Regions from separate parts of the Homo sapiens genome. Here regions 1, 2 and 3 are each linked to region 4. Evidence: promoter capture Hi-C in 16 types of primary human blood cells and fetal thymus (Javierre and others, 2016). All regions are on one chromosome and are shown on one strand. The core of a region is centred on a gene start or on the middle of the fragment in contact, and the rest is flanking DNA. Distances in the headings are between cores, read along the strand shown.

Region 1 (3,487 bases), core at 157-2,656, 420 kb before region 4:
CTTATTTTCTTCTTGAGCTTCAATTCTCAGTAGCCTCTTCCCCCATCCATATTTCCCACTGTGTTCACCTTCCTTGGCACGTGCCAGGACCCTCTGCCTTGAGGGAATATCTGCTTCTCCCCTATTGCTTCAACCTGATCTTTAGATTAGACTTACAGGATTCAGTTCAGATGTTACCTCCTCTTGGAAGTTCTCTATAATATTCCAATGCTGGTTAGTAACCCCTTCTCTGAGTTACCTATCACAGTGTCATACATCTGTCTGTTTTCTTGTGCTAGGCAATAAGAACCTAGAGGGTAGGGAATGTGTATTGTTCATTACCATTGATACCAAGAAGCACATAAATGTTGGCTATATTACTTTGTTAATAATTGAAAAAAATTTAAGATATAAAGGAAAATTCTGGTGTATCATCTGGTTTAATATCAGAAAAAGAATTAGCCAGGTATTGTGGCTCACACTTGTAATCCCAGCACTTTAGAAGGCTAGGCAGGCAGATCACTTGAGGTCAGGAATTGAAGACCCGCCTAAGCAACATGGCAAAACCCTGCCCCTACAAAAACAAAAAACAAAAAGACAAAAAAGTTAGCCAGGTGTGGTGGCACATACCTGTAGTCTCAGCTACTGTGGAGGCTGAAGTGGGAGGTCAAGGCTACATTGAGCCAAGATGTTGCCACTGCACTCCAGCCTGGGCAACAGAGCAAGACCCTGTTTCAGGAAAAAAAAAAAAAGAGAGAGAAACAAAATGGTTGACAAATGAAGTAGATCTAAGAAAAACAGAAACAAAATGGAAAGCGTTACCCTGCCCCCTTATTTGAAGTTACAAAAGTTACAAACTAACTGTTCTTACCTGGAATACCATGCCTTGCCCTGGAAGATTGTATTTAAGAGGAAATACCACAGTATTCTGTAAGAGTAAATTAGAATGGACATTGTCAACCAAAGGCAGTTATTCAAGACTAGGAGTGATGCTGTTTATTACCTGGAATGGTGGTGAAAACTAAAAATATGAACCCATTCAAGAAAATGCAGACAAACAGTTTAATTTTTGATTTATATCTTAGTTCAGACTGCTATAACAAAGTACCATAGACTGGGTGACCTGTAAGCCACAAATTTTATTTCTCACAGTTCTGTAGGCTGGAAGTCTGAGATCAAGGTATCAGCATGAATTCTGGTGAGGTTCCTCTTCCGGGTTGCAGACTGCTGTCTCCTCATAGTATTTTCACATGGAAAAAGAGAGGAGAAAACTGTGGCCTTTTTTTTAAAAAAAAAATATTTTAAATTTTATTTCAATAGTCAAAAACTATTGAACAGATGGTTTTTGGTTGCATGGATAAGTTCTTTAGTGACGATTTCTGAGATTTTGGTGCACTTGCCACCTGAGCAGTGTATACCCTACCCAACATGTGGTCTTTTATCCCTCACCCACTCCCATCCTTTCCCCCAAGTCCCCAAAGTCCATTATACCATTTTAATGCCTTTGCATCCTCATAGCTATATATCACTATATTTGGTAACTCACTTAGTAGCTACCACTTATAAGTGAGAACATACAATATTTGGTTTTCCATCCCTGAGTTGCTTCACTTAGAATAATGGTCTCCATCTCCATCCAAGTTGCTGCAAAGACCATTATTTCATTCCACTTTATGGCTGAGTAGTATTCTATGGTGTGTATATATATCAGATTTTCTTTATCCACTCTTCAGTTATTGGGCATTTAGGCTGGTTCCACATTTTTGCAATTGCAAATTGTGCTGCTATAAACATGCATGTGCATGTATCTTTTTCATATAATGACCTCTTTTCCTTTGGGTAGATATCCAATAGTGGTATTACTGGATCGAATGGTACTTCTACTTTGAGTTCTTTAAGGAATCTCCATACTGTTTTCCATAGTGGTTGTACTAGTTTACAGTTCTGCCAGCAGTGTGAAAGTGTTCCCTTTTCACCACATCCCTGCCAACATGGTCATTCTTGCAAGAGTAAGGTGGTATCTCATTGCAGTTTTAATTTGCATTTCTCTGGGGCCTCTTTTGTAGGTGCACTAATTTTATAGGTGTACTAATTCCATTCATGGGGTCTCCACTCTGATGACCTAATCACCTTCCAAAGGCCCCACCTCCTAATACCATCACATTGGGGATTAAGATTTTAACATAAGAATTTTGGGGAGACAAACATTCAGACCATTGTAATCTATAATTGATTATTAAGGCAAAATGGTCTGTTTGAGTCTTCTGGAATTAAAGAATTCAAATAATGGAAAACAACTCCAGTCTACTAAATATGATAGGCAAAAATTTTTACCCCTGTGACTTTTATTCCTGCCATGTCTGTCAGTATGTTACACTACATGGCAAAAAGGGACTTTTCAGATGTCATTAAAGTTACTAATCAATGACCTTACCCAAGGGAGATTAGCCTGGATTATCCAAGTGGGCCTAATGTAATCACAGGAGCACTGAAAAGCAGAGCTCTCTCTGGTTGATGGCAGAGCGGAAGTTGAGAGATTCTGTGGGTGAGGAGTCAGTACGCTGTTGCTGGCTTGAAGATAGAGGGAGCAGTAGGAGACTGAGAAGGAACTGAATTCTGCCAACAATGAGCTTGGAAGCTGATTCTTCTGCACAGCCTTCAGATAAAAGCCCAGGCTGGCCGACAGTTAAGTTTAGGCCTTGTGAGACCCTAAGCAAGGCCCCCAGCCAAGTCTGCTGGACTGCTAACCTGCAGAACTGTGAGATAATAAATGGGTATTATCTGCAGGTGCTAAATTCATGTTAAGTTGTTATAACAGCACTCATCATAACATGGCTCTCATCCGAGGCAACATTGAGAATGAGCCTTTAGAAAGGCTGTAGAAAACTACTACGTCATTAAAACAAAACAAAAAATGGAGTTGAGGGACAGGAGTGTCTTGCTTTGGGAACCTTTCTATTAGATTTGATTTCCAGTAGAACTTAATATTGGACAATGTCTGATAAACACCAAAATTGAATGACCTTTCTGACACCTGCAAGGGAGTCTTTATTTCTGGCTGATGCAAGAGATCTTTCTCTGACCCCTGGAACATCATAGTTGACCCAGTGCAAGCTCCGGAGTGTGTCTCAGACTTCTAAAGGCCCCAGCGGAGACATCAATCAAGGGAATCTTATGCTATTATATGCTGACTTTGTGCAGGAGAGGTTAACAATAATAAATTCAAGGAATGAAGATTGTTTTGGGTAGTAGAATATAAAAGGCTCATTCTCAATTTTTCCAAGTGTTTTGTAAAAAATAGGACATTTGAGATGTTTACTTCTTTTCAGCACTGTTTTTCTAATGTCGCCTTTATGAGGGCCATGCTGTTTGTCAAAGGCTCCCTCGAACCTCAAACACTGGAAACATACTAATCTTGTTAATGAGAAGAGAGGATTTGATTTTGACTTCATTCCGGAAATACTGTATTCTCTTACTGCAATTCTAAAAACCATTCATTTTAGTTGTC
Region 2 (3,086 bases), core at 51-2,550, 450 kb before region 4:
GATTCTTTTACAAAGCAGACACAAGGCAATTTGTGAATTTACCTTGTGGGTGGTTGTGGCTGGTGCTTAGTTTGGTTGCTGTGATCATCTTGCCTGGTAGTTATTTATTTACATAAGTTTTTCACCAGTAGAAAGTACATAGAATGCTCTGACTTCCTGGAAAAAGAACTTTGATTTCTACCGTAAAGTCATTTCATTGCTGAGTTCTTCAACACACTCTATTCCCATTATAAAAAGATGTTTCAAATATTTTTTCCTTGCTAGCTTCCCAAGTCCAACTCTTTGTCCTTACGTGTGCATGCCTGAGTGTTGTTCTGTCATAAGGATCTTAGCTCTGTTCCATTTGCAAGCCACTTTTAAGCCACCGTGTCTCATTTGTGTGCTATTGATGCTTTATGAAGCTGGCGAGGTTGGGGTTTCTGTCTTTCGACATTGCTTTGGATCAGCAGACCTTGGTTACATCGCCACTCTGGAGAATGTGTTGGTTTATTCAGTTGATCTGTGTTCTTATGTCACTGTAACCAGGGGAAGGTTATGCCACTGACTTTAGAAATCTCGAAGGTTATGTTCCAACTCCAACTAATAATAAAGGTTTGAACAAAAATCCAATTAGTAAATTCTTCTCTAGTTTCTGAGAAAGTTGAGCTAGTTTTCTCTAGAATCCATGCTTGTTTCAAATGGGGGAAATAATCTCCTACAGGAACTATGGTGTGAATGTTTTGGGGTTTTCAGGGCCTGAAAAGTTTAATTATAGTTTATTTTTTAAGTCAGAGAGTTTAAAAAGTTTTGTTTGTGTCCAAAGTAATAAATACACTTTACATTGGTTCCCATGCCACACATGGCATATATGCATGGCATGCGTACATGGAATAGCTTTGTGGAATGATTTACCTTTACTGCGTGTCTACATATGGTACTCTGTTTTCTCTGTTTATTCTATTCTATGTTATCAAACAGAAAATGTCAGTCCTGACTTACTACTTGATTTTATGACCCTCAAAAATGGTGCTTTCGGTAGACTTCACTTTTTTCAGTAGGGTGTTATTATGCATGTGTATCACATAGCTTTTTTTTCTCAATATGTAGAAGTTACAAGCTATGATGGAATTTCTGTAGATAGTCCACTGTTGTCTTGGTGTTGGAGAAAGGCCTGGTATACCAGGAGTACTTTGAGAAACAGTGTAGAGTAGTGGTGCCTCTCAGAAAACCATCTGGTCCAAAACCCAGCTTGTGACTCTGAGCCACCTACGCATTCATCCACCATAGGAAGTCCTTTTCTGAGTTCCCCTCTGCGCCCCTAGTCCAGGACCCCGTTGGTGTATAAGCCTTGAAAGTTGGCAGCAGGACCGAGTGATTGCCAACAGGAGCCTTGCTGCCTGCTGCAGGGCAGTGTGGAAGAGCCTGCTGATGCACTCAGGCTGATTCCCTGCACCTGCTCACTGGCCCTAGGGAAAGCCCATGAATAGCAATGTCTGGCCAGTTTCTGCCCTGATCCTGTAGATTTCTCTGTCTTTATTTACCAGCCTACTGTCCATCCCCCATAGGGGAAAATTAGTTGTGAAGTTTAGTCCAAAACTTTAACTTCCAATTTTTGGATTCTAGCCTGTATGTAGCAGAGATCCTATGTTGGAACTGGAAAACAAAAGCAATGTTTTGGTGGTTTTCTTTTTTTTTTTTTCTTTTTAAAGAGATAGAGTCTCCCTCTGTCGTCCAGGCTGGAGTGCAGTGGTGCACTCATAGGTTATTGTAACCTGAACTCTAGGGCTTAAGGAATTCTCCTGCCTCAGCCTCCCAAGTTAGCTGGGACTACAGGGGCCTGCCGCCATGCCTGGCTAATTTATTTTATTTTGTTTTTTTGTAGAGAAGGGGTCTTGCTATGTTGCCCAGGCTGGTCTTCACTCTTAGCCTCAAGTGATTTTCCCACTTCAGCCTCCCAAAGTGCTGGGAATATAGGCGTGAGCCACTGCCTGGCTGTAGTGTTTTTTTTGAAACAGTTACTGTAAAAACTGGTAACTGGGGCCAGGCACTGTAGCTCGTGCCTGTAATCCCAGCACTTTGGGAAGCCGAGGCAGGTGGATCACGAGGTCAGGAGATCAAGACCGTCCTGAACATGGTGAAACCCTGTCTCTACTAAACATACAAAAATTAGCTGGGCATGGTGGTGTGCTCCTGTAGTCCCAGCTACTCAGGAGGCTGAGGGAGGAGAATTGCTTGAGCCCAGGAGGCGGAGGCTACAGTGAGCTGAGATTGTGCCACTGCACTCCAGCCTGGGCGACAGAGTGAGACTCTGTCTCAGGGAAAAAAAAAAAAAAAAGGGTGGGCACAGTGGCTTACCCCTGTAATCCCAGCACTTTGGGAGGCTGACGCAGGTGGATCACGAGGTCAGGAGATCGAAACCATCCTGGCTAACACGGTGAAACCACATCTCTACTAAAAATACAAAAAATTAGCCGGGCGTGGTGGTGGGTGCCTGTAGTCCCAGCTACTCGGGAGGCTGAGGCAGGAGAATTGCTTGAATCCAGGAGGCGGAGGTTGCAGTCAGCCGAGTCCGCACCACTGCACTCCAGCCTGGGCAACAGAACAAGACTCCATCTCAAAAAAAAAGCCCCCCAAAAAACCCTGGTAATTGGTTAGAGATACTTTTCTAAATTGTGATCATATAGACTAGATATTAACTTGTATAAAATACTAGAGAAGTATGCCTTTTACTTATTTGTAGTTCCATATAACAGAAGCTTGCCTCGTTCATCTTTCAGAATTCTAAAACAATTGAAAATATTTTTTAATGAACATCTTTCTAAAGTATAGTCTACACCCAGAGCCTGTTTACAGGTCATGGTTTGTGCAGTAGTCATGCATGGTCTTTTTTCATCGTAAGGATAGTTCTGTGGGAGTGGCAGGACAGGTGGCATTGCCCCTTTTTGTTGTGAGCAAGCAGTTCCTGCAATATTAAGACTTGCCTGAAGCCATAGAGATAATTGGTATAGACTGGATTTGAATCCACTTCTCGTGACTTAGTCCCACACTCTTCATGACACTTCAACAACTCTGCTCAATCAAAGAGTACAATTTAACCTCGTTTTAAT
Region 3 (3,546 bases), core at 211-2,710, 420 kb after region 4:
CATAGCAGGGGATCAGTGTCAATCTCTGTTGCTGGTATATTGGGCTCTCAGCAGTGGCCGTAGCCTGGTTTGCCTTGGTGAGTGGAAGCTGATGTTGCTGAACCCATGCATAATCTCCATCCCTGCCACCGGGGCCACTTTATTCATGCGCCCATTGGGCAAGCATGAGGTGGCTGGCAATAGGGCTGACTGATATCCACAGAACAGTCATCCTAGCTATGTAATTATTAAAATCCTCCCCAGCTGAGGTCACCCTTTGGTGAGCATTTGTATGGGACACAAATATTTTTATATTTTTTGCACATTCAAAGTAATCTATGTATATACATCTCCAAATTTCATTTGTCACCAATTTTCCAATCATGTTTCTTCTAAGTCCCTGATCCTCCAACCAAACCATCTGTTACGGCCCATGAATTAGTATGTAATCTCACATATGGCCATTTCTTCTTCTCCTGCAAAGTCACAACCAGGTGTACTGCCTGAAGTTCTGCCCACTGGGAGGATTTCCCTTCACCACTGTCTTTTAGGGATACCATAGAGAGAGGCTGTAGTTCTGCATTCCATTTGCACAAGGCCCAGGAGCAGGCCAAAAGCTGTCTCTTAAAAGGAGAGTAGTTATCTGTGGATGATGGCAGGACCTTGCTCCCAGTGTTCTGTAGTCCCTAAAATGTCTGATTATTTTCCTTTCTCTGGTGCACATTTATACTGGTAAAAATCCATAGGTCTTCCTCATCTCTACTAAAAATACAAAAATTAGCTAGGTGTGGTGGCACACACCTGTAGTCCCAGCTACTTGGGAGGCTGAGGCGGGAGAATAGCTTGAACTCAGGAGGCAGAGGTTGCCATGAGCCGAGATCACACCACTGCACTCCAGCCTGGCGACAGAGTGAGACTCCATCTCAAAAAACAAAAACAAAACAAAAACCAACAACAACAAAAAACCATAGGTCTCTTTGGGGAAGACTGGGAGGATGATTAATACTATACATTTTTGGTAGTGTACTGGGGTTCTTCCTTGAGGGGACCCTACCTCGCCTTCACTCAAGCATTCTGGATCTTTAAACTGGCTCAAGCCTGGGAATCGATTGAGGGACTTAGGGTTCTGTAGAGAAACAGAACCAATAGGATTTATTATGAGAATTGGATCACAACATTAAGGAAGCTGAGAAGTCCCACAATCTGCTGTCTGCAAACTAGAGAATCAGGAAAGCCAGTGGTATTATTTAGTTCAAGTCTGAAGGCCTGAGAACCAGCAGCTTCAATGTCCAAGAGCAGGAGAAGATGATGGCTCAGGGGAAACAGAGAACATATTCTCCCTTCCTCCACTTTTTTTGTTTTACTTGGGCTCCTAATGGATTGGATAATGAATGCCTACACTGGTGAGGATGGATCTTCTTTATTTAGTCTACTGATTAAAATGCTGATCTCTTCTGAAAACACCCTCACAGACACACCCCAAAATAATGTTTTACTAGCTATCTGGGCATCCCCAGTCAAGTTGACACATAAAAGTAACCACACCCTTGATGACCTTGTGCGGAAAAGTTGAACTTGTATTTCTTCCTGGGGTATGATCCCTTGGGTATAAGTGTAGGAAACATGGGATCTGGGAGGTGAGATAATGTCAGGCTCATGGGAAAAAAACCACAAGATGAGATGGGAAGAGGCCTGGAGTCCTAGATGGTAAATGCATCTTGTAAATCACATTATTTATATTTATGCCATTTCTAGCTTTCATTACTTCTGTAAGCACTGTTCTAAGAGGGCATTAAGGCATTAGGTCCTGTTTTCCATGTAGACAAAGATGTAAAGGAGCAGTGCTGCCTGAGGCATCATGGTGGCAACAGTGAGAAAAAAAAAAATACAATTCCTAAGAAAGTGGAGCAAGTCAGAGGCGCAAGATCCATCTGCCCCTCTGGACACAGGATTCTTACTCCATTGCTAATGTTGGAAAACGTGGGTGCACCATATCATGATTAGGGAAGTTTGCAGTTTTCTTTCAAAGGGCACAGCATAGCAAACAGAAACTATAAGGGTTCCTATACAATGGAGAATAAGGCCTAGAGCTGTGAAGCTGTGCAGCTTTCTAGTCTTCATCCAACCTCCCACTCCCTTCTGCTCTTTAGGGCACTCCTGTGTTGATATTAATATTTGTGTTAATACTATCAATTTATCTTAGACTTTGCTTTCCTGAGTCATTGCTTCCATAAATCACTAACCTTCCCAGTTAAGTGCCCCTGAGGTGTATATGACTGACCATAAACCTCTCTTGAACCTGACTCAATGCAAATGCTCAATAAATGTTAGTGAATTCATAAGTAACATCAAACTAAATGAGGAGGAAATAATGAACATCTAGTGATCAGCTCAAAATGACTTTCCTGAAGTTTTTCTAAGTATCCTAAAAATATCAAGAGGGGAAAATTGTTTCCTGTTATTTTCATTACCAAAACATTTTCTTCCATAAACATTTCACTAGCAGCAACTTCTCCAACTTTTTGACCAAATAGCAACAAGGGTAAAGCAAGGATTGCATACTAAGGGTAAGAGAAAACTTTAATCAGGTTTAGGGAGTCTAAGAGTACATTCAGCTGGGATAAAGGCACTGAAAGTGTCTTCTCTTTGATTCCAAGGCATTCCCCTTTGCCTTCATATTTCTTGGAGCGAAGTTAGTTTCTCAGACATATTTTCACCCACACAGAGATGCTGACATTTTATCCTGACCTTTCCACTTCAGTTACTTCCAAATAAGTATCCATTGATGTGGGATGCTGTGCTTATCATTCTGCTCCCATCTGTTCTGGTCACCACTTGGCATCGGACGGTGGGGAGTTCCATGCCCATTTCCCATGAGCCTTTGATCTGTTCCCACCTAAGTTCAACCGATGGAGGCTGGGAACAAAACATCCCATCCAGCATTGACCTTTGATCTCCCACTGATGCAACTTGCCTCCCTGTACCTTCCAAATTTTGCACATATAAATATTTCCTTGTTTCGTAGGCATTCTGACCATCACAAATGAAGGCCTGTCTCAGGGCTGGTGCTGCCAAATAAAACTAGGAATGTATTGTGTTATAATATGCCTTTGTTGATACTCCCAGACAACCCAGGAGGTTCATTCTGGAATAAAACTGCAAATTGACTCAAAGAGGAGAGAATGAAGAGAGAATCAAGATGGAGAAGGCACTCTGGCTTTTGAGCCAGGCGTTCCAACAGGAATAGAATTCAAATTGTGAAAACAGACCAAATAGTGTTATTTTGGAATCAGAGAATGTATACATCCATCATATTTAGATTTGAGAGTTTGAAAACTTATTTCTGAATCCATCATCAAATTGGAGTCTACATTGTACTTTCTTGGAATGGTAACATAGCTGCAGAAGTACATACAACTGTAGGGAATCTGAATAGAAAAGTATCATGGAGAGGCTAAAACACTGTTTTGGACTCTCCATATTTTCTCATCTCTCCAAGATGAGAAAAATCATCTTGGGATGTAAAAGATTACTGTGTTTTGGAATAAGAAGCTAAACATAAGAACA
Region 4 (3,268 bases), core at 711-3,210:
CCTTACTATATGCAGGAACTATCTTGAGCACTTTAGATGAATTTGCTCTTTTAACAATCATTAAAACACTGAGGTTAGCACTGTCTGTCTTACAGATGAGGAAATGGAGGCACAAAAAACTGAACTAACCTGCCCAGTGTCACACAGCGAATATGAGAAAGCGTGTAAACCTGAACCATCCGGTTCCAGAGTCTGTACCACATGTTGGGTATATTATTGTTGGAAACCCACCAGGGTCAATGTGGTCTCTTCCAGAAATTGTGAAGAGCTAATCTCTTTGTGTTCACCTCGGCATTAATGAGCTCTTTTCCTCAAGCCCATCGGAAATGGTTTCATTGAATAACGAAAATAAATTATATATATCAAGTCCAAAATTATCCAGAGATATTAAGATGCCTGCAAAACTCTCATTTTGTCTGAAGCCACTTTGCTTCTGGTCAGTATTTGACTTATAAGAATTTTTTTTTCTCACAAATATATTATACATAGCTAATTAAACAAATATCTTCATTACTTTTGAAAACCCTGAGAACATAAATATCACCATTTTCTTCACACAGCTTCCACGATACAAAATTAACTTTTGGCAGAACACCCTCTTGTGTTCTTTGAAAGTGAAAATATTTTCCTGTAATAAAAATATATGACGTGGTTTATGTAAAACTTGAATTATGTAAAATGAAGGCTAGGGAAATTATTTCATGTATTTTCAGATACTTTCTCCATGCTTTTATTCGTCCTCAAGAATTGCCAGAAAATGGCATAAGTCAAAAGAGTATTCTGTTTCTATTGAGAATATCAAATTGGAATACAATTTAAAATATTTTTAAGTAGTTCCCACTTTTATATTAAATTAACAGAAAAAATAGGGGATTCAGAAGAAATCTTTGGAGGTACAGGGTTAAGACATGACCCCCATACGATGTTTCAGTGATTTTCCCAAGGCCACCGAGGTGCCTGACACTGAGAACTCCTTTGTCCTCAGCGGCACACCTGGCTGCCACCCCACCCTTCCTGTCACATCTTAGGAGTCAGAACTGCGACGGGAGCTAGCCCAGGACACCGAAGGGGGGATCCTAAATGCAGGTTGCATGCTGACGTATGATTTTTATTTGGAAAAACCTCAAAATAGTAAATGAAGAGTAGAGAGAGTGCAGTTTAAATAGGTAGAGATTCGTGATAGGAAGTGGACTGCAGCAGAGGCGACATGAAATTATCTGGGGAAGCCAGATGAAGCCTTTCCGAAAGGAAGCGAGCATTTGTTAAATTACATGTTCATTCATCAAATTCACTGAGCTCCCCTTGAGATCCAAACACGGTGCCGGACACTAAGGATACACAGATAAATTCAGCATCGCCTCCGCTTTCCAAAATCTGGCAACCCAGCAGGAAAGAACAGCATGCAAAGAGATAAGAGTACCCGGGGAGCCACGGTCCAAGGTGCAAAGGCGGAGCCTAGGAGGAAGGGATCACCTGTGTCAGCAGGGGTCAGGGACGGGCTTCTGGGTTTGGGTGCACGCGTCCAAAGGAGTGCAGCCTTTATCCACAGGTGCAATTAGAACACCCATCTCACACTGCTGAAAACTCAGATATGGCACTGCTGACCACCGCCCCACGATGCGACATCAGGGGTCAGATATTAGGCTGGCGCTGTGCAGATAAACAAGTGTATATGTTGGTGCGCCAGGAAGACAAAACACGCGCCTGGAGAGGCCAGGAGAGCGGGACTGGAGGGTTGTGGGACGCGCGGGACCCTCGGGCCGCCTTCCGCCGCCGCCCGGTGTCACCAGAACCCAGCCTGTTTACCAGCGGCCCCGCCCGCCCCGGCCCGGCAGGGCAGGTCGGGGCGGGCGCGCTCTGAGTCACCGGAATCTAGGTGGGGCCGCCCGGAGCGGCGTCCTCGGGAGCCGCCTCCCCGCGGCCTCTTCGCTTTTGTGGCGGCGCCCGCGCTCGCAGGCCACTCTCTGCTGTCGCCCGTCCCGCGCGCTCCTCCGACCCGCTCCGCTCCGCTCCGCTCGGCCCCGCGCCGCCCGTCAACATGATCCGCTGCGGCCTGGCCTGCGAGCGCTGCCGCTGGATCCTGCCCCTGCTCCTACTCAGCGCCATCGCCTTCGACATCATCGCGCTGGCCGGCCGCGGCTGGTTGCAGTCTAGCGACCACGGCCAGACGTCCTCGCTGTGGTGGAAATGCTCCCAAGAGGGCGGCGGCAGCGGGTCCTACGAGGAGGGCTGTCAGAGCCTCATGGAGTACGGTGAGTGCCCGCCGCCGCCGCCGTCGCCGCCTCCAGGAAGCCCTCGGGGCCGCGGCCTGCAAAAGCCGCCGCGCGTGATGGGCCCTCACAGGGTCGGGGGAGCCAGTGCTTTTCAGAATGCCTGTTTAGGACGAGCTCGGGCTCATGCATCCGACCTGAACCAAATGCAGCAGCAGTAGCTTTGGGTGGCCAACACCAAGCTCAGAAACAGAAAAAAAAAAAAGGCCGTAGTTCAAACTGTATAGTTTTTTTCCTGGGTTTTGTCGGTTACGTACGAAAGATTATTTCAAGCATTGCAAGTTTAGATGAGTAAATATAATGAACAAAGTTTCTTGGAGACCTGAAATTTCTTCCCATTTCTCTTCCTTCTCGTTTCTTCTTATGATTAAAATATAAATATTGAAATAACGTGCCTTCCCTAATATCAGTGGATTCGTTCAACTTGATATAGCTGAAAAAACTTTCTCATTTAAAAAAGCCCTTTCAGGCAGTTTTAGCAGTTAACGTTTTCAATAGATATTTCAGTCTACTTTACCGGTCAGGCTAGTTCTTGTTAGCTCTTGTTCTAGGGCGTGTCCTTTGGTTTAAGCATGGCATTGTTGTTTAGAAAACTTAATTATTTTAATCCGATTTGAAATCTAAAAAGCAAACACATTCCCTACACTCGCGACGTGAAGCAGAGTTGACAAATTTAATGTACCTAGCAGGTGAAGTACTGTATGCCATTTTCCCAGCATGGAGGAAGCTCCCTGCTTGCCTTGCTGAAAGTCAGGACTGGAGCATAGTTCTTGTCTGAGAAGGCATTTTCTTTCACAGTGGGAAGCCCCCTCTCCTTTCCTGGGGGTGGATGGGAATCACAGCTGGGGTCTACTGTGATTAGCAATGTGTGTGGGGGTGGAGATGGGGTCTGTGAGAGCCTAATAAAACCTTAAAGCCAAATGGGCTTTACCTACCGGGTTTAATAGTTTTAAACACAGACAGCAAGCTACCCTGCCTGTTTTCATTTCTTACTATTA

Evidence for each region. The method cuts DNA at HindIII sites, captures the fragments that hold promoters and counts their contacts. A CHiCAGO score of 5 or more calls a contact.
Region 1: a contact is called between a fragment that was not itself captured here and the fragment with the promoter of PERP in region 4, in 4 of 17 cell types (naive B cells, neutrophils, naive CD4 T cells and 1 more). The highest score is 7.7, in naive B cells.
Region 2: a fragment that was not itself captured here is called in contact with the fragment with the promoter of PERP in region 4 in 2 of 17 cell types (erythroblasts and neutrophils); the score reaches 6.5 in erythroblasts.
Region 3: a contact is called between a fragment that was not itself captured here and the fragment with the promoter of PERP in region 4, in 1 of 17 cell types (neutrophils). The highest score is 5.8, in neutrophils.

What each region holds. Positions count from the first base shown.
Region 1 is chr6:138,528,765-138,532,251 of GRCh38, reverse strand. It overlaps a transcript of NHSL1 not described here. Among named protein-coding and RNA genes, the nearest start is that of NHSL1, 31 kb to the right of the region's middle. The HindIII fragment of the contact is 8,403 bases long and covers 1-3,487 here.
Region 2 is chr6:138,557,650-138,560,735 of GRCh38, reverse strand. It overlaps a transcript of NHSL1 not described here. Among named protein-coding and RNA genes, the nearest start is that of NHSL1, 60 kb to the right of the region's middle. The HindIII fragment of the contact is 2,874 bases long and covers 1-2,737 here.
Region 3 is chr6:137,688,906-137,692,451 of GRCh38, reverse strand. No RefSeq gene overlaps it. Among named protein-coding and RNA genes, the nearest start is that of LINC03004, 25 kb to the right of the region's middle. The HindIII fragment of the contact is 9,855 bases long and covers 1-3,546 here.
Region 4 is chr6:138,106,111-138,109,378 of GRCh38, reverse strand. It overlaps PERP (p53 apoptosis effector related to PMP22), which reads left to right and starts at 1,960. Exons shown (of 3, transcript NM_022121.5): 1 at 1,960-2,252. The coding sequence starts at 2,039. RefSeq lists a silencer at 1,782-1,831. The HindIII fragment of the contact is 14,503 bases long and covers 1-3,268 here.